6 separate regions of the Homo sapiens genome follow, and regions 1, 2, 4, 5 and 6 are each linked to region 3. Evidence: promoter capture Hi-C in 16 types of primary human blood cells and fetal thymus (Javierre and others, 2016). All regions are on one chromosome and are shown on one strand. The core of a region is centred on a gene start or on the middle of the fragment in contact, and the rest is flanking DNA. Distances in the headings are between cores, read along the strand shown. Region 1 overlaps LOC105378408 (a long non-coding RNA gene). Region 2 overlaps WAPL (WAPL cohesin release factor). Region 3 holds the start of GHITM (growth hormone inducible transmembrane protein). Region 4 has its middle 54 kb from the start of GRID1. Region 5 overlaps SHLD2 (shieldin complex subunit 2). Region 6 overlaps BMPR1A (bone morphogenetic protein receptor type 1A).

Region 1 (3,334 bases), core at 614-3,113, 2.4 Mb after region 3:
CCAGGCTGGTATCAAACTCCTGGACTCAAGCAATCCACTCACCTCAGCCTCCCAAAATGTTGGGATTACAGGCATGAGCCACCACACTTAGCCTAAAAGCTACATCTGTTTTAATATGAACTACCTAGTACCTGGCAAGAAGATGGGCTGAGGGGAGGTCCTGCAGACTGAAGCCTCAGAGCCTCAGAGCATCCACCTCTGTTAGTGCATCCAGTATTCCTGACATAGAAAGAGGAATATTATCCTATTTTTTTTTTCCAGACAGGGTCTCACTGTGTTGCCCAGGCTGGAGTGCAGTGGTGCGATCTCGGCTCACTGCAATCTCTGCCTCCTGGGTTCAAGCGATTCTTATGCTTCAGCCTCCTGAGCAGCTGGCATTACAGGCGCCTGCCACCATGCCCCCCTAATAATCCGGCGAGGGATACTATTCCTTTTTAAATGACTGGCAGTTAGGACTGTTTGTTTTGTTTGCAACAACCATGTAAAGGCAAAGCCACCCATGTGGTTTGGAAGGGCAGGAACTGGTCCTGTGCCAAGGTGTGCCTTCTCTCTCTGTGGTGGAGGGGGTGGTGGGGCCTGCAGGGAACTGGGCAAACTCAGGCCCTGCCAAAAGGGATGACAGATGCTCCCCTCCAGCTGACAATAGCCGTGGGACAGAGAGGACCCAGAACTGCCAGATCTTTCCATATTTCAAAAGAAATGATTAATCTAGCTTTTCATGTGAAGTCTCCTGATTTTTAAATGTTGCCAACTAATTCTAACTTTATTTAAACACTGCTCACTATATAAACAATATTCATCTAGCTCACTATACAATACACATCCAGGCAAGTGCTACCTAGATTGAGTTACTCAAGGGCGGGATAATCTGGCTTTATTCTTTCTGTGACCCTCAGGACCCTGCACAGCACCTGATGCGTGATTCCTACTCCAAAATATATATGGAATAGTGAACAAAATAATACAGTTAGGGAAATGAGACATAAATATATTGACAATTATTTATTTATTTATTTTGATATGGAGTTTCACTCTTGTCATCCAGGCTGCAGTGCAATGGCATGATCTCATTTCACTGCAACCTGCATCTCCCGTGTTCAAGTGATTATCCTGCCTCAGACTCCCGAGTAGCTGGGACTACAGGAACGTGCCACCATGTCCAGCTAATTTTTGTATTTTTGGTAGAGGCAGGGTTTCACCATGTTGGCCAGGCTGGTCTTGAACTTCTGACCTCAGGTGATCCTCCCGCTGCGGCCTCCCAAAGTGCTGGGATTACAGGCTTGAGCCACTGTGTCCAGCCTATATTGACAATGATCAAACATGAATAGAATGGGTTGTGACACAAATAACCACCATGAATCTTCGTGATTCTCCCAGCAATTCAGTATTGATTTTGATTTACAATTTTGGCATAGATAATTAGCTCCAGGGGTTTCCACTTGGATGTCTTCATTGCATGAACTAAGGGGGTATTGTGATTCTCACAATAGCTATATATGGCTATTCAGGAAAGTGGGAATAACTCCAGAATGGTTTTGAGCATGTATCAGTCAGCTTAGGCTAAGTTATACTGAAGTAACAAATGACCCAAATGTCAGAAGCTTACAATGAAAATTTTTCTTTCTCGTACTGTATGTCCATCTTGGAGTAACTTCAGCTCTGCTTCAGGCCATCTTTATTTGCGTACCCAGGCTGACAGTAGGCCCAATCTAGATGTTGCCAGAGGAAAAAGAGAGATGGCAAACCACACACTGCCTTAAACCTTCTGCTCAGAAGTGACATGTCACTGATGCTCACATTGCATTGACCAAAGTAAGTCTGCCCTCTATGGAGGATGGATGTGTGGTTTTTCCACAGGGCAGTAACACATTATATCACAATTGGCCTTTCTGGTCTCTGATATCTGGCGTATCTCCAGGCCTGATGTCATTGGGACAGGGAAAGCCTATAGTGCCTCAGAATCAAGCTAAAACACCATTTGTCACCTGATCACCATAAACTCAATTTCTACCAGTGGATCAAAGAGGTGTTCTGGATCCCCAGAAAATAGAGTTAGAGCTCATTATAGTGTCCCATAATCTCAGATAAAATTATTTTTTTCCTCCACTGCACAGTTAATCTGGAAAAAGCTTGTAGGCCTGTAGTGGTTAATTATATGTGTCAACTTGACTAAGCCGTGGGTTGCCTAGATATTTAGTTAAACATTATTCTGGGGGCCTGGCACGGTGGCTCACACCTGTAATCCCAGCACTTTGGGAGACCAAGACAGGCGGATCAGGAGGTCAGGAGTTTGAGATGAGCCTGGCCAACATAGTGAAACCCCATCTCTATTAAAAATACAAAAATTAGCCGGGCATGGTGACGCACACCTGTAGTCCCAGCTACTTGGGAGACTGAGGCAGGAGAATCGCTTGAACCCAGGAGGCAGAAGTTGTGGTGAGCCGAGATCATGCCACTGCACTCCAACCTGGGCAACAGAGCAAGACTCCATCTCAAAAAAACAAAACAAAACAAAACAAAACAAAAACTTTATTCTGGGTATGTCTGTGAGAGTGTTTCCAGATGAGATTAGTATTTGAACCAGTAGACTTAGTAAAGCAGATGGCCCTCTCCAATGTGAGTGGAACTTATCCATAAACTTTACTGTTTCTACTTGACTGTCTGTGACCTGGGACATCAGTCTTCTCCTGTCTTTGGACTGAGTCATGAACTAGAACTTACACCATCAACTTTCCTCGGGCTCCAGCTTGCTGACTACAGGTCTTGGGACTTCTCAGCCTCTATACTCATGTGAGCAAATTCCTTTTAATAAATCTCTTGCTGGGCATGATAGCTCATGCCTGCAATCTCAGCACTTTGGGAGGCTGACATGGGCAGATCGCTTGAGTTCATGAGCATCCTGAGCTAAACAGTGAAACCTCCTCTCTACAAAAAGTACAAAAATTAGCAGGGCATGGTGGTTTGTGCCTGTAGTCCCAGCTACTAGGGAGGCTGAGGGTGGCAGGATGGCTTGAGCCCAGAAGGCAGAGGTTGTAGTAAGCTGAGATTGCACCACTGCACTCCAGACTGGGTGATAGAGCCAGATCTTGTCTCAAAATAAATAAATCTCTATGTGTGTGTACACACAAATGTATATATATGTATATATATAAACGTATATATGTATATGTATGTATATATGTATATATACACATATATGTTATATATACACACACCATATATATATATATATTTATTTATTTATGGTTCTTTTTACTTGGGGAACCCACATTAATACAGATTTCAGTACTAAGAAGTGGGGTGTTGCTGTAACAAATACCTAAACATATGGAGG
Region 2 (3,454 bases), core at 708-3,207, 2.3 Mb after region 3:
TGAAACCACCTCTACTAAAAATACAAAAATTAGCCAGGCGTGGTGGCGCAAGCTTGTAATCCCAGCTACTTGGGAGGCTGAGGCAGGAGAATCACTGGAACCTGGGAGTCAGGGGTTGCAGTAAGCTGAGATGGTGCCGCTGCACTCCAGCCTGGACGACAGAGCAAGACTCTGTCTCCAAAAAAATTTAAAAAAAAGAAAAGTATGGCCTAAGATTTAGATGCTATGGTATTTATTTCTGTAATTTTTGTAACAAAATAAAACTTAAAAAAACAGAAAACCATCAAAAAGTGTATCAGTAGAGGTTTGGTTAAATAAAGTACTAAGGCAGGGCATGGTGGCTCATGCCTGTGATCCTAGCACTTCAGGAGACAAAGCAGGAGGATCACTTGAGTGCAAGAGTTTGAGACCTCAGCTCTACAAATACGAAACTTAGCCAAACGTGGTGGCATGTGCCTGTAGTTCCACCTACTTGGGAGGCTGAGGTGAAAGGATCACCTGAGCCTGGGAGGTAAAGGCTGTAGTGAGCTGTGACTGGACCACTGTACTTCAGCCTGGGTAAAAGAGTGAGACCCTGTATGTATGTATGTATAAATCAAAAAGCTACTAGTTTGCAGTCATTACAAAGAATGTGATGAACCTACGTGTTGACATGAAGAGCTCAGGAAGACACATTAAGCAAAGAGTGGGTATAGACTAAATACTATGTACAGTAAGAGTCCATTTATATAAAACACATTGCACATTTTTTTATTTACTTTTCGGACAGGGTCTTATTCCCATTGCCCAGGCTGGAGTGCAGTGGCAGGATCATGGCTCACTGCAGCCTCAACTTCCTGGGCTCATGTGATTCTCCCACCTCAGCCTCCCAAATAGCTGGGACTACAGGCACATGCCACCACACCTGGCTAATTTTTTAATTTTTAGTAGAAACATAATTTTGCCATGTTGCCCAGGCCAGGCTCAAACTCCTGGGCTCAAGCAATCTGCCTGCCTCAGCCTCCCCAAGTGCTGGGATTACAGATTACAGGCATGAGCCACCATGTCTGGCCTGCACATTTATTTTGATATATGCATAAACACTAATTTCTCAGGACAAACACAAAACTATTACAAATGGTAACGTTTTAGGAAATAGATCTGTGGAGTTTAAACCTTTCTGGATCTGACTTTTTTTCCCCCACTACGTATGTGAATTATGTTTGGTTTTTAAAAAATAAACAGATCCATAAATAGGTAAGAAAAGAACAGCTAGAAAGAGGAAAGTTCATGTCAGTAATCAGAACTACCTGTAAGATTCCATTTATACAACATTATCGAAAAGATACGTAATTTGAAAATTACTGGATTCAGGCCAACGTTATCAGTAGCATAAACGATATAAATCTGAACATGGATTTTTCCACTCTATCTTTGAATAACAGAATTAAGAGCCATTTCTTGACACTTTAAGGTAACTGATGTGAGTACAAGGCAGCACAATTTTCTAAAATGAGTAACAGAACCCATCACCCAAAAGGTATTACAATTGAAAAACAAAAACTTTAAACTGATTTAAAAATGACAAACCATAAACCATAGCAGATAAAAGAAAGACAGAGAAGATATAGGATGATACCCTGAAGGACAAGAGGCTTCTATAACACTAAGTGCAAAAGAGGAATACTGGAAGTGATATTCCCAGGTCAATTAGACACAGTAGGAAAATTTGAGACTATCCCTGAAACAACTCACAAACAGGGATCTCTGAGGGTGTGGGGATGGCTTCTGCAAATGAACCCCTATTATGTGGATAATGCAGATCTATCATCTGTGCCTTCAAACACAGCTCCTGAGGCGACTGACGGTAAGTTTTTATTCATTTCTAGGTTCCATTTGAAGAAAAGTCAATTTTTAAAAGAAAGAGACTAGAATGATAGAAAAAAATAAAACAAGAGATGGAAAAAGATAGAAAACACGTTGGTGGTAGCTAGGAGACAGGGAGGGCAGGTAGGCTGTACAGTGAGCAGCAAAAGGGAATTCTTTTATGGTGACGGTTCTATATCTCAATGTAGTGGTGAGTACATGAATCTATACACGTAATAAAACTGAACAGAGGTACATATGTTACACACAAACATAAATGAATGCAGATGAAAATGGTGAAACTGAATAAGGTCTAAAGTGCAGTTAACAGTAATGTACTAATGTCAATTTCTTGGTTTTGCTATAGTACTACAGTTATATAAGATGTCACCATTTGAGGAAGTTAGGTAAAGGGTAAATGGGAGGGATTCTTTGTACTATTTTTGTAACTTCCTGTGAGTCTATAACTATTTTGAAATAAAAAGTTTAAAAACAAGTCTACTGAACAGAAAAAAAGAATACTTTTTTTAAACGTTTTTGAGACAGGGTCTCACTCTGTTGCCCAGGCTGGAGCACAGTACTGTAATCACGGCTCACGACAACTTCAAACTCCTGGGTGCAAGCAATCCTCTCACTTCAGCGTCCCGAGCAGCTGGTACTATGAGCATGCACCACCACACTCAACCAACTGTTTTATTTTTTGTACAGACAGGATCTCACTATGTTGCCCATGCTGGTCTCAAACTCCTGAGCTCAAACAATCCACCCACCTTGGCCTCCCAAAGTGCTGGGATTATAGGTGTGAGCTACCTTGCCCGGCCAAGAAATGCTTCATTTAGCAGAAAAATAAATGTTGTCAATGGGATCAAAGCGGTAGGTGCCAAACATTTTCAAATGTTTTTTGCATTAAATGAAATCTCTAAATGGTATCTGGAGACTAAAAGCAGTCTATTATCAACTATTGATAGTAAATTACTACTACCATTTACTATTACTGTTACTGATAAGTAATGATAATCTATCACTAGTTTCACATTTAATTTTGTATTTTAAATAAACTAAAACTTCAAGGCTAGTCAAAACGGAGTATTCTGAGTCTAAGAAGAAAAGCCTAGGGATTAACTACCTCTTATCTATAGTCAACATTCAATCACACATAATAGAGAACAAAAGAGGATAATAAAAAATGACTTTAAATGGCTCAAAGAAACACTCTCATTCACAATTTCCCATGCTCGGCTACTTTGCCACTTTCCAGACTGGGTAAGGGAACAGGTGACAAAGGACTTCCAGTTTTCTGTGGTCCATAAGGTCAAAGTTCTGGACACAGATCAGACGAGTAAATAAATACTAGAGGACACGAAGTGGATGTGATGGGCCTGGATTCTTGACTTTTTTTTTTTTTTAATAGAGATGGGAGCTCACTATGTTGCCCAGGCTGGTCTTGAACTCCTGGACTCAAGTGATCCTCCCCACCTCAGTCTCCCAAAGTGCTGGGATTACAGGCGTAAGCCACTGCACCCAATTTCATTAATAGAACAAATGTGCCTTTGTCTCTGCTTTTTGGTAACAATGCTTAAGGAGTGATTATAACAGTCGAAAAAAAATC
Region 3 (3,619 bases), core at 105-2,604:
TATCCACATAGAAGGCAAGTCTTTATATTTGTCAAGGTTTACATGATTAGGAATCATAAATCACAATTAACTACTGCTTAGGAGATAAAGGTTCATGAATTTTGCATGTTGTTAATCACCTTATCACCCTTTCAGGGTTTTAATCTGCTCTTTCTTCATGGTATTAAGTTATCACATTATATTTTTTCTATGTTCTGTCTCTACCAGAAAGTAAAGCCACAGAGCAAGGACTTTATTTTGTTAAAATAGTGGTAGCACACACGGGTTTAATTCATTTGCTGTTTTTTTGTTTTTGTTTTTTTGGTTTCTTTTTTTTTTGAGACTGAGTCTCCCTCTATCGCCCAGGCTGGAGTGCAGTTGCGGGATCTGGGCTCACTGGAACCTCCGCCTCCTGGGTTCAAGTGATTCTCCTGCCTTAGCTTCCCAAGTAGCTTAGATTACAGGCACCAATCACGCCTGGCAAATTTTTGTATTTTTAGTAGAGACAGGGTTTCCCCACGTTGGCCAGGCTGGTCTCGAACTCCTAACCTCAAGTGATCCACCCGCCGCGGCCTCCCAAAGTACTGGGATTACAGGCTTGAGCCACCACGCCCGGCTGATTCATTTGTATATATTTCTAGAACAGAGCTTGGTACGAAGTTGAGCATTCAGTAAATATCTGTTGAAATAGAGGGAGAGTGAAAAAGAAAGTAACTCTCTCGCGTATTCCACAACTAGCTCTTCACCTATCAAATTACGCGCAATGGAAACATCTTAGTCCTCAGAGCAATCCTGGGTGCAAGGCAGAGGCGGCTGTTATCAGGCCTATTACACAGGTTTAGGGTGAAACTTGAAAATGTGGGCGGGAAAGTCACAAAGCAATGAAAAAACCATCTAGAAAAAATCTTTTCTGGATGTCACCATCTAACATTTGGCATGAGACCCCAGAAACCGGATGACTCGGCTCAGAAGCAGACACATTTGAAAAGATATTTATCTCACGATAAATTAAGGGACAAAAAGGCCTTCAAAAAGGAACGGAATAAACGGAATAATTTTTAACTCTAACATTACTTTCTTTCAATTTTTACATAATTCTTATAGCTGCGGCGAGTGAAACGACTAAAACAAAAGCAAAACAGAGCTCCACTGCCCAAAACAAAGATGGCCGAGACGACTCCCATGCCCACACGCAAAATGGACGCTGACTATGACGTTCCCTGCAACAATCCTCAACTGGCCCCGCCCCACCAATTTGGAACCCCGCCTCCTCAACCCGGAACCCCGCCTCCCCCAGTGTGGCCGCTTTTCCGACAGAGGCCTGCCCGTGATTGGCTGCTCGTACTATTTACGTCCTTTCGATGTTGCGTCATGCAGTGCGCCGGAGGAACTGTGCTCTTTGAGGCCGACGCTAGGGGCCCGGAAGGGAAACTGCGAGGCGAAGGTGACCGGGGACCGAGGTACTGCTCCGGCTGGCCGGCGGGCGCCCGGGATCCCCGGTGGTCCTGACAGCCGCCCTCACGGGACCGCTGGGTGCGGGGGGAAGGGCTGGAAGCAGCGGTGCTGCTGGCTGCGTCAGGGCCGGCCTGCGCGTTGGGGTCGCAGTCCTGTGGGTGACCTGGTGGAGAGGGCGGCGGCACAAGGCCCTGGTCAGGCGGGCAAGGGCTCAGTGTAGCTGTGCTTCTGTCCTCGGGCAACAAGGTGCTGAGTCATCCTTGCGGCGAGGCCGTACAGCCGCTGCGCTGGTAGCGGCACCTGGGGCAGGGGCAGAGGTGTTGTGGGTTGACAGGGAAGTTTGCTGCCGGGTTCTCATCTGAATCTAGCGGGCTGGGTGAACTTTCTCGGGGACCAGGCACCCAAACTCATCAATGCTCACGGAGGCATAAGCCCTTGGATTAGGGTCGGTAGTATTTTCCCCATTTTATAGCAACGACATCTGAGTCTTAGAGATCCACACTCCTCACAAGGTCACTTCTAACCTGTCAGAAGCGGGATTCCCACTCTGGGCTGTTACGCCACATGGAGGTCACTCTGAGCTGGACCTCTTCGGCCCCAACCAGTGGACTGAGTACTGAGGAAGATACAGGACAGCCATAGGTTGAGATGATGTAATGGCACGAAAGTTCCAAAAGCGCTGGGTGTTTTCCCAAAGGCCGGGTGCCGAATTTTAAGACCCTTAATAGTTCAGTTGCAGAGCTCGGAGGACGCTCGGGTATCTTAAAGCAATAGTTCTTAGCTTTTGGAGTGTTCGTTAAAACACACGTTCTTGGTCTTATTCCTAGGGGTAGAATCATTAGGAGCAAAGAAAGACCCAGGAGCCTACATTTTAAGATGCATCCGGGGCACTTTCAAGCAGGTAGTCTAAGGGTCAACGCTGTAGTCTGAACACGGAATCCTTATGTTACAGATGGGGAAATGGGCCCAGAAGTATATCACTTGCCTAGAATTCACTACAAATCATTGGCAGAGATGGGCTGGTAGCCCCAGTTGGTTTACACTCGTCATTTCATTCTGACCTATTGTAGTCACCTCACCTTAGCATTACAGAAACACTGTCTGCTGACTTCTGGTTGACCACCCATCTAGTATAATGTGCCCTGGAGCTAAGATAATCCAGTTTTTAGCATGCTTTTCTTTTGAAGACACCATCGAGGGAGTCTAATGTAAGGGAAACCTGGTTGGTAACTGAGTTTACTTGTTTACTTTGAAAGACTAAATGTCCTTTACGCATTATAGTAGGACATATAGAATAGGTTAACTTAGAATATTTTTATATCTCATGTTGAAGGAAAGTAATATTTGGTATGATTAGCTGAAATTCATATAGTTGGCTTCTTTTAATACCTTTTAGCTTTGTAATGCAGTATAACCTTGAAGAGCTATTCATGTCTTCTTTGGATGACACTATTCCTTTGCCCAAAAGTTATGTAGATTCTTTTAAATTTTCCCACTGGATGCTGGTATAAATCTTAAGCCAAAACTACATTTGTAAAAACCATCACAGACTCTGTAATCACGTCCAGTTATTAACAGCCGTTCTGTGTTACACATAATTTTTGCAGTCATCTATTTTGATTGGTCAAACTGGGACTTAAACCTAGTTTGTTCCTCCATCTTCAGCTGTGTTCTCTGGGATGGGTTTCTTGCATTACAGTGGATGGTTGGGCAAAGAATTCATCGCTGAAAATTAAAAAGGTCGCTTTATTTCCTGTTCTACTAAAAAATAGTTTGTTCCTTGACTCTGACTCTCATATGTCCTTCTCTTAATTGGTTAGTAGGTTGTTTTACTTATGTTTTTTTGGTTGGTTTTGCCTTTTTTTTAAACTAGCATTTCAGATCTGCTCGGTAGACCTGGTGCACCACCACCATGTTGGCTGCAAGGCTGGTGTGTCTCCGGACACTACCTTCTAGGGTTTTCCACCCAGCTTTCACCAAGGCCTCCCCTGTTGTGAAGAATTCCATCACGAAGAATCAATGGCTGTTAACACCTAGCAGGGTAAAGATAATCTGAATGTTTTTATATTGCTTCTTTTTCCATTTGTGCCCTTTCTTTTTGGCAGAGTATGGCTGCTCTGCCTTTAGTGTGTTATACGTCAGTTAGCCCTGATAATATCCCCAATCAGCTCTTTCTCCCCATTAG
Region 4 (3,356 bases), core at 60-2,559, 2.3 Mb after region 3:
AACCCACAGAGCGTAGAAGGCCATGAGTGAGCCTGCTGTAAACTTGGACTCTGAGTGACAATGATGTGTCATGTTTACTGATTGTAGCAAATGCACGACACTGGTGCAGGATGTTGATCATGGGGGAGGCTGTGCATGTTGCAGGCACAGGGATACCTGGGAAATCTCTGCACCTTCCACTCAATTTTGCTGTAAAACTAAAACTACTCTAAAAAATAAAGTCTTTTTTTTTTTTTTTTTTTTGAATCTGAGTCTTGCCCTGTTGCCCAGGCTGGAGTACAATGGCTCGAACTCAGCTCACTGCAACCTTCACCTCCCTGGTTCAAGCAATTCTCCTGCCTCAGCTTCCTGAGTAGCTGGGATTACAGGTGTGAGCCAGCATGCCCGGCTAATTTTTGTATTTTTAGTAGAGACGGGGTTTCACCATGTTGGCCAGGCTGGTCTTGAACTCGTGACCTCGTGATCCACCCACCTCGGCCTCCCAAAGTGCTGGGATTACAGGCATGAGCCACCATGCCCGGCATAAAGTCTATTTTTTAAAAAGCTGTAACAATTTACACTCACACACAGTTTATGAATGTGCACCTGTGGCTCAACATCCTTACAAAGGAGATGGTATCAATCTTTTAAGATGTGTGATGTATTTAAAAACACTATAGGTCATTATTTGTAAAAATATTGAAGGGGGCTGGGTATGGTGGCTCACGCCTGTAATCCCAGCACTTTGGGAGACCGGGTGGGTGGATCACTTGACTCCAGGAGTTCATGAGCAGCCTGGGCAACATAGCAAACCCTGTTTCTACAAAACACACCAAAAAATTAGCTGGGGTGGTGGCACATGTCTGTAGTTCTAACTGCTTGGGAGGCTGAGATGAGAGGATTGCTTGAGCCTGGGGAGGTCAAGGCTGCAATGAGCCGTGATCACGACTCTGCACTCCAGCCTGAGAGAGTGAGACCCTGTCTCATTTAAAAAAATTACATTGACGGGGTTCCTACTATGTGTCAGGCCCTGTTCTGGGCACTGGAATTTAGCAGTAATGAAAGACATAAAGCTCCTGCCTTCATGAAGCTTACATGCTAGCAGATACATAATAAAAATATGCTATCTGGCAGTGAGAAGAGGCGGTGAGAGGTAGTCAGATTCTGGGCATAATTTGAAATGGAAGTGAGAGGGTAATAAATGAATTATATAAAGGGAGGTGGTGTCAAAATTGTTCCATGTTTGGTGCCTAGGAGCTCAATGAAGGGAACTGAGCTATGAAAGTCTCATGGGTTACATACAGATTGTTTGGGAGGGTCTCAGAGTATAGTTTCGACAGGAGTTAGGAGATGCCTGTAAGACATCCAAGGGGAAAGGGTGGATGGGCGCCTGGATGTGTACAGTTAGGAAAATGTTAGGATTGAAGCTACAAATTTGGGAGTCATCAACACATAGGTGGTGTTCCAAGTCATGAGTCTTGGTGGTCTTATGGGTTATTCCAAGCCATTAAGACCACCAAGAAGTGAGGGAGGGAAAAGAAGAGGCCACAGGCTGAGATCAGGGGTGTGCAGAAGCTTTTTTGCACACAGATGATGGGCTGTTTTCCTAATATAAAGGCAACTTGGTTGTGAGGTGTTCACTTTTTTTTTTCTTTTTTGAGACAGAGTCTCGCTCCGTCAACCAGGCTGGAGTGCAGTCGCGTGATCTCAGCTCACTGCAACCTCCACCTCTCAGATTTAAGCAATTCTCCTGCCTCAGCCTCCCAAGTAGCTGGGATCACAGGTACGTGCCACCACACCCGGCTAATTTTTGTATTTTTAGTAGAGACAGGGTTTCACCAGGCTGATCTCAAACTCCTGACCTCAGGTCATCTACCTGCCTTGGCTTCCCAAAGTGCTGGGATTACAGGTGTGAGCCACCGCGCCCAGCCACATTTTTATATATTGCTGTAATTTACTGGCTAACTTTTTATTAGCATTTCACGTCCAAGCCATGAAAGATTGGACTACAGTACAATCTTTCTTTCTTACAATGTCCACGTCAGGGTTTGGTGTCAGGGACAAATGGGTCTCATAAAATGGGTTGGAAAAGTATTTCCTCTTTTTCTATTTCCTTAAAGAGTTTTGTATAACACCGTTGTTACCTTTTTCTTAAAATGTTGGAAAACTCACCAGTAAAAGTAAATGGGCCAAGTGTTTTCTTTATAGGAAGGTGCATTCATCTGTTTTGCATTGCTATAAAGCAGTACCTGAGGGTGAGGATCTCACTCTTTCACCTAGGCTGGAGTGCAGTGGCTCAATCCGGGCTCACTGCACTTTCCACCTCCTGGGTTGAACTGATCCTCCCCCATCAGCCTCTCAAGTAGCTGGGACTACAGTTGCATGCCACCATACCCGACTAATTTTGTATATTTCATAGAGATGCGGTTTCACCATGTTGCCCAGGATGATCTCGAACTCCTGGGATAAAGTGATCCACCCTCCTCGGCCTCCCAAAAATACTGATATTAGAGGTGTGAGCCACCACGCTCAGCCTAGTTCTAATTTAAAAAAAAAAAAAAAAAAAATTATGGCTGGCTGTGGTGGCTCATGCCTGTAATCCCAGCACTTTGGGAGGCTGAAGTGGGCAGATCACAAGGTCACAAGTTCAAGACCAGCCTGGCCAACATGGTAAAACTTTGTCTCTACTAAAACTACAAAAATCAGCTGGGCATGGTGGCATGTACCCGTAATCCCAGCTACTCAGAAGGCTGAGGCAGGAGAATCACTTGAACCCAGGAGGCAGAGGTTACAGTGAGCTGAGATCAAGCCATTGCACTCCAGCCTGGGCCACAGAGCAAGACTCCATCTCAAAAAAAAAAAAAAAATAAGACTTAATTTTTTAGAGTAGTTTTAGTTTTACAGGAAAATTGAGTGGAAGGTGCAGAGATTTCCTAGGTACCTTCGTGCCCGCAGCATGAACAGCCTCCCCCATGATTAACATCCAGCACCAGCAAGTCTTTGTATGACAATGTGCTTTCGTTTGTCTTCAGTAAATACCTAGCAGTGAAATGTATGGGTGATATACAAAGTGTGTGTTTAAGAAACTGACAAACAGGCCAGGGCAGTGGCTCACACCTGTAATCTCAACACTTTAGGAGGCCAAGGCAGGTGGATTGCTTGAGCTCAGGAGTTCGAAAGCAGCCTGGACAAAATGGTGAAATCCTGTCCCTACAAAAAATACAAAAAATTAACCAGACGTCATGATGTGTGCCTGTAGTCCCAGCTACTTGAGAGGCTGAGGTGGGAGGATCGCTTGAGCCTGGGAGGTTGAGGCTGCAGTGAGCCAAGATCATGTCACTGTACTCCAGCCTGGGTTGCAGAGCAAGACCCTTTCT
Region 5 (3,685 bases), core at 281-2,780, 3.0 Mb after region 3:
TCGAGGCTGCAGTGAGCTACGATAGCTCCACTGCACCCCAGCCTGGGCAACAGAGGGAGACCCTATCTCCCTCTGAAATAGTCTAAAATAAGGAAACTAGAAATGCGATAATGCCCCCAGGAAATTCTTTCTCAGGAATATATGTATTTGTTAAATGGTTCAGTATATGATTTATTTTTTATTTTATTTATTTATTTGAGATGGAATCTTGCTCTGTCGCCCAGGCGGGAGTGTAGTGGCACCATCTCGGCTCACTGCAGCTTCCACCTCCCTGGGTTCGTTCTAGCGATTCTCCTGCCTCAGCCTCGGGGTAGCTGGGATTACAGGCCCGCGCCACCACGCCCGGCTAATTTTTGCATTTTTAGTAGAGACGGGGTTTCGCTGTGCTGGCCAGGCTGGTCTCCAACGCCTGACCTCAAGTGATCCGCCCGCCTAGGCCTCCCAGAATGCTGGGATTACAGACGTGAGCCACCGCGCCTGGCCTCAGTATATGATTTATAAGCTTTATGCTGTATGAGGGTTCAGTTATGTATTTATACATACTTGATAGGAAATGCTAAAGTTCACATTCCTATGGATAGCTTTTGGTGCTTTTCAAACTAACGAGGCTGGCACGGTGGCTCACGCCTGTAATCCCAGCACTTTGGGGGCCAAAGCAGGCTGATCGCTTGAGGCCAGGAGTTCAAGACCAGCCTGGGCTCGTCTCTATAAAAAGAAAATAAAAAATAAAGCTCTAATGACAGTCATTAAAACTAGCTGCCAAACACCACATTACTAGCGTTAGCGGTCTCAGTGTACTTGGGTGGTTTTAAAATGACACCCATTGGACCTGCAAAACGATGGTGCTTCCCGATATGTTCATGTTATTCATCTTTTAGAATATGGAAGAGAAAGTTCTTAGTTCTCGAAATATTGTGTAAAATATAAGGTGACAACCTGGATCTGTTAAATGACATTCATCTAAGTGTACTCTCAAAGTCAAAATTATCTTTTCATACAGGTGGAACTTATATTTTACCTTACTTGCTAAATAAGTCATTGTCATTAATTGTATTTGCACTGTGTTTTTCAGTGAAAAATGTACTCTGACCTGAATCCTGAATTTTCCTTGATGGTCAAAAGATTAAGGTATCAAATTTCCTTTTTTCTGGATGTATTATCGTTTTACTCTCTTACATTGCAATCCCCCACTCCTGCAAAAAACCCACGGAGTTTCAGAATAAAATGATTAGCATCAGTAAACATGGAAATATTTTTCTTTTTGGATTAAATTATTTGTTTATGTTCTGAGGAAAAATCTTTAAAAGCTTAGTTTTATTGTTTTTGTTGTTCTTTATAACCTTAGCCTTCAGAAAAATAAATGTTTAACTTTGCTTCTTCTGTGACTTGTTCACCTGAATTCAAGAAGGTGGAATTGGGCCTAAGGAGGTGGCTCACGCCTGTAATCCCAGCACTTTAGGAGGCTAAAGTGGGCGGATCACTTGAGGTCAGGAGTTCGAGACCAGCCTGGGCAACACAGTGAAACCTTGTCTCTACTAAAAATACAAAAATAAGCCAAGCGTGGTGGGGGGCCTACAAAAATTAGCCAGGCGTGGTGGCGGGGAGGGGGTTGGGCAGTGCTTGTAGTTCCAGCTACTTGGGAGAACCACTTGAACCAGGGAGAGAGGTTGCAGTGAGCCGAGATCGTGCCATTGCACTCCAGCCTGGGCAACAGAGCGAGTCTTCATCTCAAAAAAGGAAAGGCAGAATTGAAGAAGCTTTGGAAGAGGTGAGGAATAGAGCTGTGGAAATTACTATTTTTTTTTTAATTGAGAATCTCCTGTGTGTAGGTGCCTTACAAACTGGCTTCATGAGTACCCTATAAAACAGATGTTTTTATTTTTAAAATCATCATGGTTTTGTTTTGTTTTGTTTTTTTGAGACAGTCTTGCTCTGTTGCCCATGCTGGAGTGCAGTGGTGCAATCTCAGCTCACTGCAGCCTCTGCCTCCCAGGTTCCAGTGATTCTCCTGCCTCAGCCTCCCGAGCAGCTGGGATTACAGGCGCCCGCCACCATGCCAGGCTAATTTTTTTGTATTTTTAATAGAGACGAAGTTCCACAGTGTTGGCCAGGCTGTTCTCAAACTCCTGGCCTCAAATGATCTGCCCGCCTTGGCCACCGAAAGTGCTGGGATTACAGGTGTTGAGCCACTGCACCTGGTCATTATGTTTTAAAATTACATACAAGTTGTTAAAAAAATATGAACAGCAGAAATAGATTTTAGAAAAACAGAATGAAATTATCCATCTCTTCCCCCATTTAGTGAATATTTGGAGTATTTCTTTTCACACTGTAGGTATTATAATTCCTGATTTATTAGAAGCAGGGAGTGGCTGGGCGTGGTGGCTCATACCTGTAATCCCAGCACTTTGGGAGGCTGAGGCGGGCGGATCACCTGAGGTTGGGAGTTCGAGACCAGCCTGACCAACATGGAGAAACCCCATCTGTACTAAAAATACAAAATTAGCCTGGTGTGATGGTGAATCCCTGTAATCCCAGCTACTCAGGAGGCTGAGGCAGGAGAATTGCTTGAACCTGGGAGGCGGAGGTTTCAGTGAGCTGAGATTGCGCCATTGCACTCCAGCCTGGGTAACAAGAATGAAACTCCATCTCAAAAAAAAAAAAAAAAACAGGGAGTGAGGCCCACAGAAACCAAACAAATTGTTGATGATCACCAAGCTTGTAAATAGGGTAAGATTCAAACCTGTGTATCTGACTCCAAAGTTATACTATTTATACTATTCCAAGGAGTATTTTAAGTATTTGTTCCATTTAGTTAGAAATTATTTACTGTGATATAAAGTCTAATGAATTTCAACTTTAGATTTATGATTGCTTTTGTAAAATATACAGATAATTTGCAAAGTAAGGTTTTTTTTTATTTTTATTTTTCGAGACAGGGTCTCACTGTGTCACCCAGGCTGGAGTGCGGTGGCACGATCACAGTTTACCACAGCCTGGACTTCCTGGGCTCAGGCAATCCTCCCACCTCAGCCTCCTGAGTAGCTAGGACTATAGGCACCTGCCGCCACTCCCGGCTAACTTTTGTCTTTTTGGTAGAGGTGGGGTTTCACTATGTTGCCCAGGCTGGTCTCGAACTCCTGGGCTCAAGCGATATGCCCGCCTCTGCCTCCCACAGTGCTGGGATTCCAAGTGTGAGCCACCATGCCTCACACAATAAAGTTTAATTATTTGTAGTAATTTCCCATTCAAACGAAGACCAAAATTCAGCTTGAAGGGAACATTCAATAGCATTCCACAAAGTCAAATGAGTTTTCTGCCTTAGAGTTTTCCTTAGCTGGTTTAAAATTCCAGGTCTGTTTTTCTTGATCCATAGCATGCTTTTTTCTCTCTTAAAAATATTTTAGAAGAAGATTGTTAGGATTTAGAAAAACATAGCATATAAATTCTTGAACCATTCATTTTTAAAAATAATTTAATTTGAAAGGTAAAAATATACTTTCTACTTTCTGTCTCACTAAATCAGTCTATTCTGGACTTTTCCTATAAAAGATGTATGTGGCCCTTTGTGACCGTCTTCTTTCACTTGGCAGAGTATTTTAAAGGTTTATGCGTGTAGCATGTATCAGGTACTTCATTTCTTGTTATGGCTACATAGTTTTTGTTGTATGACTGTACCACATTT
Region 6 (3,381 bases), core at 785-3,284, 2.6 Mb after region 3:
TAAATTCCTTCTGTTACTGGCTTCTTAACCTTCCGTCAAAGAGGGAGAATTTTTTTTTTTTTTTTTGTCTTTCTTATTAGTTAACACCTTGGGGTTTTTTTCCTTTCCTTCTAATTTTCCTGCTTAGTGGAGCGTGAGTTATTTTCTCTGTCGTATTTGGGTTCTTTAAAGTACAAATGTTCTTAAGATTTTTTCAGTTTACAAAAACCTTTTCTTAAGTCTGCTACTCCTTCAAGCTGTCTTGTTGCTGCTTTTCCTTTTCAAATCTTATTAACATTTTAAAAAGCTTGTTCGTAATAAAAGTAACACATGGTTGTTAATTGCGAACTAGCGCAACATTGAAATTAAAATTTAGTCATTCACAATCCATCTCTAGAGATTGCCAAGTGTAGTCTGCTTTTCCTGCCTTTGCCTGGTTGGTGGCTAGCCACTCATTTCTTAACCCCTTGTTATCTGGATTTCACCTTCACAAGGAACTATAACCTAATCAACACATTTAACTACCTTTTTCTAAGTCCTCTCCTTGAGTTTTCTGTAAGATTTAACATCGACTTCACATTTTCAGATGCCTCTCCTTGGGTTTCATTCATCTATACTCGCTGTATTCTAACACAGGGTCCAAGGCAGTAAGATACAACAGATCCTTCCCTCATGGAGCTTAAAGTCTAGTGGGGAAATACTTATTGAAAAATAAAGTCTCTAGTTAAATATAATTGTGATTTTAATTAAGGTGCAGAATATTATAAGAACTTCAAATGGAGACCTGATCTGGTGCTTGTGGTGGTGGGAGAATCTGGGAAAGATACCTTAAAATTGCTTTGTTGGAACCCAGGCAGATTGTGAAGGATGAGCAAGAGTTAACTATTAACTAGATGAAGAGGGGCCTTTTGTGACATTATACTGACTTTGTTCCTCTCCGCCACTTTTCTGCCTTCTGTTTCTTCTTTCCTCTTTAATATGCGTTCTCCAAGTTTCACTTTTCAGATCACTTTTCTCTATGTCTCTAGTCCCTTAGAATGATTGTTCAGACCTTTCTGTTGGAATAATTCTCAATTCTTTGTTTATGTGTCTTCTGAATCACGTTTTTTTGTTTGTTTGTTTTGTTTTTTCTTTTTTATTCAGTTGCTTTCTACATATCTGTACCTGATTGTTCTGAGCTGCTTTTCCTTAGCAAACTTGCCTCTTTGGTGTTCTTTATTTTTGTTGATGTCATACCAAACCCAAACCTTTTCCCATTTCATCATATCTTGTCTGTAGCCAACATCTGTTGATTCTGCTTTATGATATTGTAACTCTTCTGCTCTCTATTCTTGCTAACTGTGGGGCAATTCTGAATTCATATTGGTGTGAAGGTAGTAGTCAAATCATAAAACGAGTTGGGCAGCTTTCCTTCTTTTTCTCTTTTTCAGGATCATTTTAGACTGGGATTATCTGTTCCTTGAAAGTTTGGAAGACCTCCCCTATGTGACCATTTAGGCCTAGATCTTTTTTCTGGAGAGGACTTTGAGTAACACTTCAATTTCTTTAATAGCTGTTGGTTTGTGTCGATTTTCTGATTCTCATATGAATTTTAATGTTTCACATTTTTTTCAGGAATTTATTTTCAAATCTAGTGTTATTTGGCTTTCACGTAGTTCTCCCCCCACCACCCCGCGACTCCACCCCCACCCCCTAACTCTAAATCAAGTTCTCATCCCACCTGGACTAATGTTATGATTTTCTTGCCTTCACTTTTCTCCTTTATCTAATCTTATGTATTTCTGCCTAAATTAATCTGTAAGCCCAGTTCTTACCACTTCGCCACTCAGAAGTTTCCTAGGTCTTCCATTAAATGAAATATTTTCTGTGGTATTTGCCTCAGATTTACCTGTTTTTTTTTTTTTTTTTTTTTAATACCTTATTGTTTTTTCTTTCTTTCTTTCTTTCTTTCTTTTTTTTTTTTTTTTTTTTTTTGATACAGAGTCTCGCACTGTCGCCTGGGCTGGAGTGCAATGGCGTGAGCTCAGCTCATTGCAACCTCTGCCTCCTGGGTTCAAGGGATTCTCCTGCCTCAGCCTCCCAGGTAGCTGGGACCACGCCTGGCTAATTTTTGTATTTTTAGTAGAGGTGGGGTTTTGCCATGTTGGCCAGGCTGGTCTTAAACTCCTGACCTCAGTTGATCCGCTCGCCTCAGCCTCCCTGTGCTGGGGTTACACAGGTGAGGCACTGTGGCTGGCCTTTATAGCAGTTTTTATACAAATATTAGTTTCACTACTAGTTTGCAGGGTGGGTCTGTAACGGACTTTTCTTGCATATTAAAAGGAATAAATGGGGAAAGGCTCCTGTCTAGCCTAACAGTAGCTGTTGAACTGTCCTGATCTGACTATTGGATCTTAGGAGCAGCGAACCATGGAGAGAAAGGAAAATGGGTTTCCTATCACACTAAATTTTGAAGTAGGAACCATTTCTTTTCCTTTTCTACTTTCCCACCTTTTACTAGTTTTTAGGCTTTAGGATGTCTTTTTAACATCACAAGGTCCATATTGACCAAGTTGGACCAACTTTTTAACACAAGATTAAATGTTGACTTGCATTGAGTTATGTCCATTGTAAGATACACAGTAGTGTTACAGACCACTTAAAATATGCTTCTAGTTGTAAGAAGCCATTGATTGTAAGGTGCACCCCAATTCCGGAGATGCTAAAATATGAAAAATGGATGCATCTTAGAATTGATGAATAGTGTTTCTCTCCCTAATCAAAGCTCTTGGATGTGCCTGGAAATCCCCAGTAGTGTTTTTTGAAAAGAACACTAGTTAGGGGCATAGGGAGATCAGATGATCAGTAGACTCCATCTCAGGGTGGCCCCTGTGGTCCCTAAGCCAGTTCGTATGGGCAGTTTAATATATAACTAATGAGTAGACATTGAATAGATGAGTAAATTATCTTTGAGTATCTTTTATTTACTCTGATGTTGTAGACTTTGTTACTCTTTTATAGTTTTATATTTCTGATGAGCCTTCCTTTCTTATGGCACAGATTTGTTATACTGTTAAAGTCTGGAACAGTGGAGCTTGGCTCTTGATCCAGCTGTATATAATTGGCTGTTGACTTATGAAGGAGGACAGGAGTATGCTAGAGATAGGGATAAAATATTATAATCACATTTGCAGTTAGGGAGATTAGTTACATGTTGGAAAATCATTTTGAAGAAAGGAAGACTGAAGATGTTCAAACTTGTAGGAAGGTCTTTCTGGCCTAGCCCGGATTAAACCCATTTATGCCTAGTGTTCCACTATTGGAACGCTAAGCACGTGGGAGTTATTTATATCCTGCTCAAGGTCATCACCAAGGTCTGATTGCAAAAATTCAAAAAATTGCAGCCTCAGGCATAAATGGGTT

What was found. The method cuts DNA at HindIII sites, captures the fragments that hold promoters and counts their contacts. A CHiCAGO score of 5 or more calls a contact.
Region 1: a contact is called between a fragment that was not itself captured here and the fragment with the promoter of GHITM in region 3, in 1 of 17 cell types (total B cells). The highest score is 7.4, in total B cells.
Region 2: a fragment that was not itself captured here is called in contact with the fragment with the promoter of GHITM in region 3 in 1 of 17 cell types (monocytes); the score reaches 6.0 in monocytes.
Region 4: a fragment that was not itself captured here is called in contact with the fragment with the promoter of GHITM in region 3 in 2 of 17 cell types (naive CD4 T cells and naive CD8 T cells); the score reaches 8.8 in naive CD4 T cells.
Region 5: a contact is called between a fragment that was not itself captured here and the fragment with the promoter of GHITM in region 3, in 3 of 17 cell types (non-activated CD4 T cells, monocytes and total CD4 T cells). The highest score is 8.7, in non-activated CD4 T cells.
Region 6: a contact is called between a fragment that was not itself captured here and the fragment with the promoter of GHITM in region 3, in 1 of 17 cell types (naive CD4 T cells). The highest score is 6.5, in naive CD4 T cells.

The regions. Positions count from the first base shown.
Region 1 is chr10:86,544,758-86,548,091 of GRCh38, forward strand. The region is part of intron 3 of LOC105378408 (a long non-coding RNA gene); the gene reads left to right. LOC105378407 (a long non-coding RNA gene) reads right to left here. Exons shown (of 4, transcript XR_946161.1): 4 at 1,270-1,299. Among named protein-coding and RNA genes, the nearest start is that of WAPL-DT, 24 kb to the left of the region's middle. The HindIII fragment of the contact is 528 bases long and covers 1,600-2,127 here.
Region 2 is chr10:86,447,870-86,451,323 of GRCh38, forward strand. The region is part of intron 15 of WAPL (WAPL cohesin release factor); the gene reads right to left. Among named protein-coding and RNA genes, the nearest start is that of WAPL, 72 kb to the right of the region's middle. The HindIII fragment of the contact is 3,815 bases long and covers 51-3,454 here.
Region 3 is chr10:84,138,155-84,141,773 of GRCh38, forward strand. It overlaps GHITM (growth hormone inducible transmembrane protein), which reads left to right and starts at 1,355. Exons shown (of 9, transcript NM_014394.3): 1 at 1,355-1,439; 2 at 3,308-3,475. The coding sequence starts at 3,347. RefSeq lists enhancers at 723-1,292, 1,293-1,862 and a silencer at 1,436-1,635. The HindIII fragment of the contact is 9,095 bases long and covers 1-3,619 here.
Region 4 is chr10:86,419,232-86,422,587 of GRCh38, forward strand. No RefSeq gene overlaps it. Among named protein-coding and RNA genes, the nearest start is that of GRID1, 54 kb to the left of the region's middle. The HindIII fragment of the contact is 485 bases long and covers 1,068-1,552 here.
Region 5 is chr10:87,095,862-87,099,546 of GRCh38, forward strand. SHLD2 (shieldin complex subunit 2) reads left to right here. Exons shown (of 10, transcript NM_001330112.2): 2 at 1,073-1,128. Among named protein-coding and RNA genes, the nearest start is that of SHLD2, 2.5 kb to the left of the region's middle. The HindIII fragment of the contact is 450 bases long and covers 1,306-1,755 here.
Region 6 is chr10:86,758,319-86,761,699 of GRCh38, forward strand. The region is part of intron 1 of BMPR1A (bone morphogenetic protein receptor type 1A); the gene reads left to right. Among named protein-coding and RNA genes, the nearest start is that of BMPR1A, 3.4 kb to the left of the region's middle. The HindIII fragment of the contact is 3,501 bases long and covers 285-3,381 here.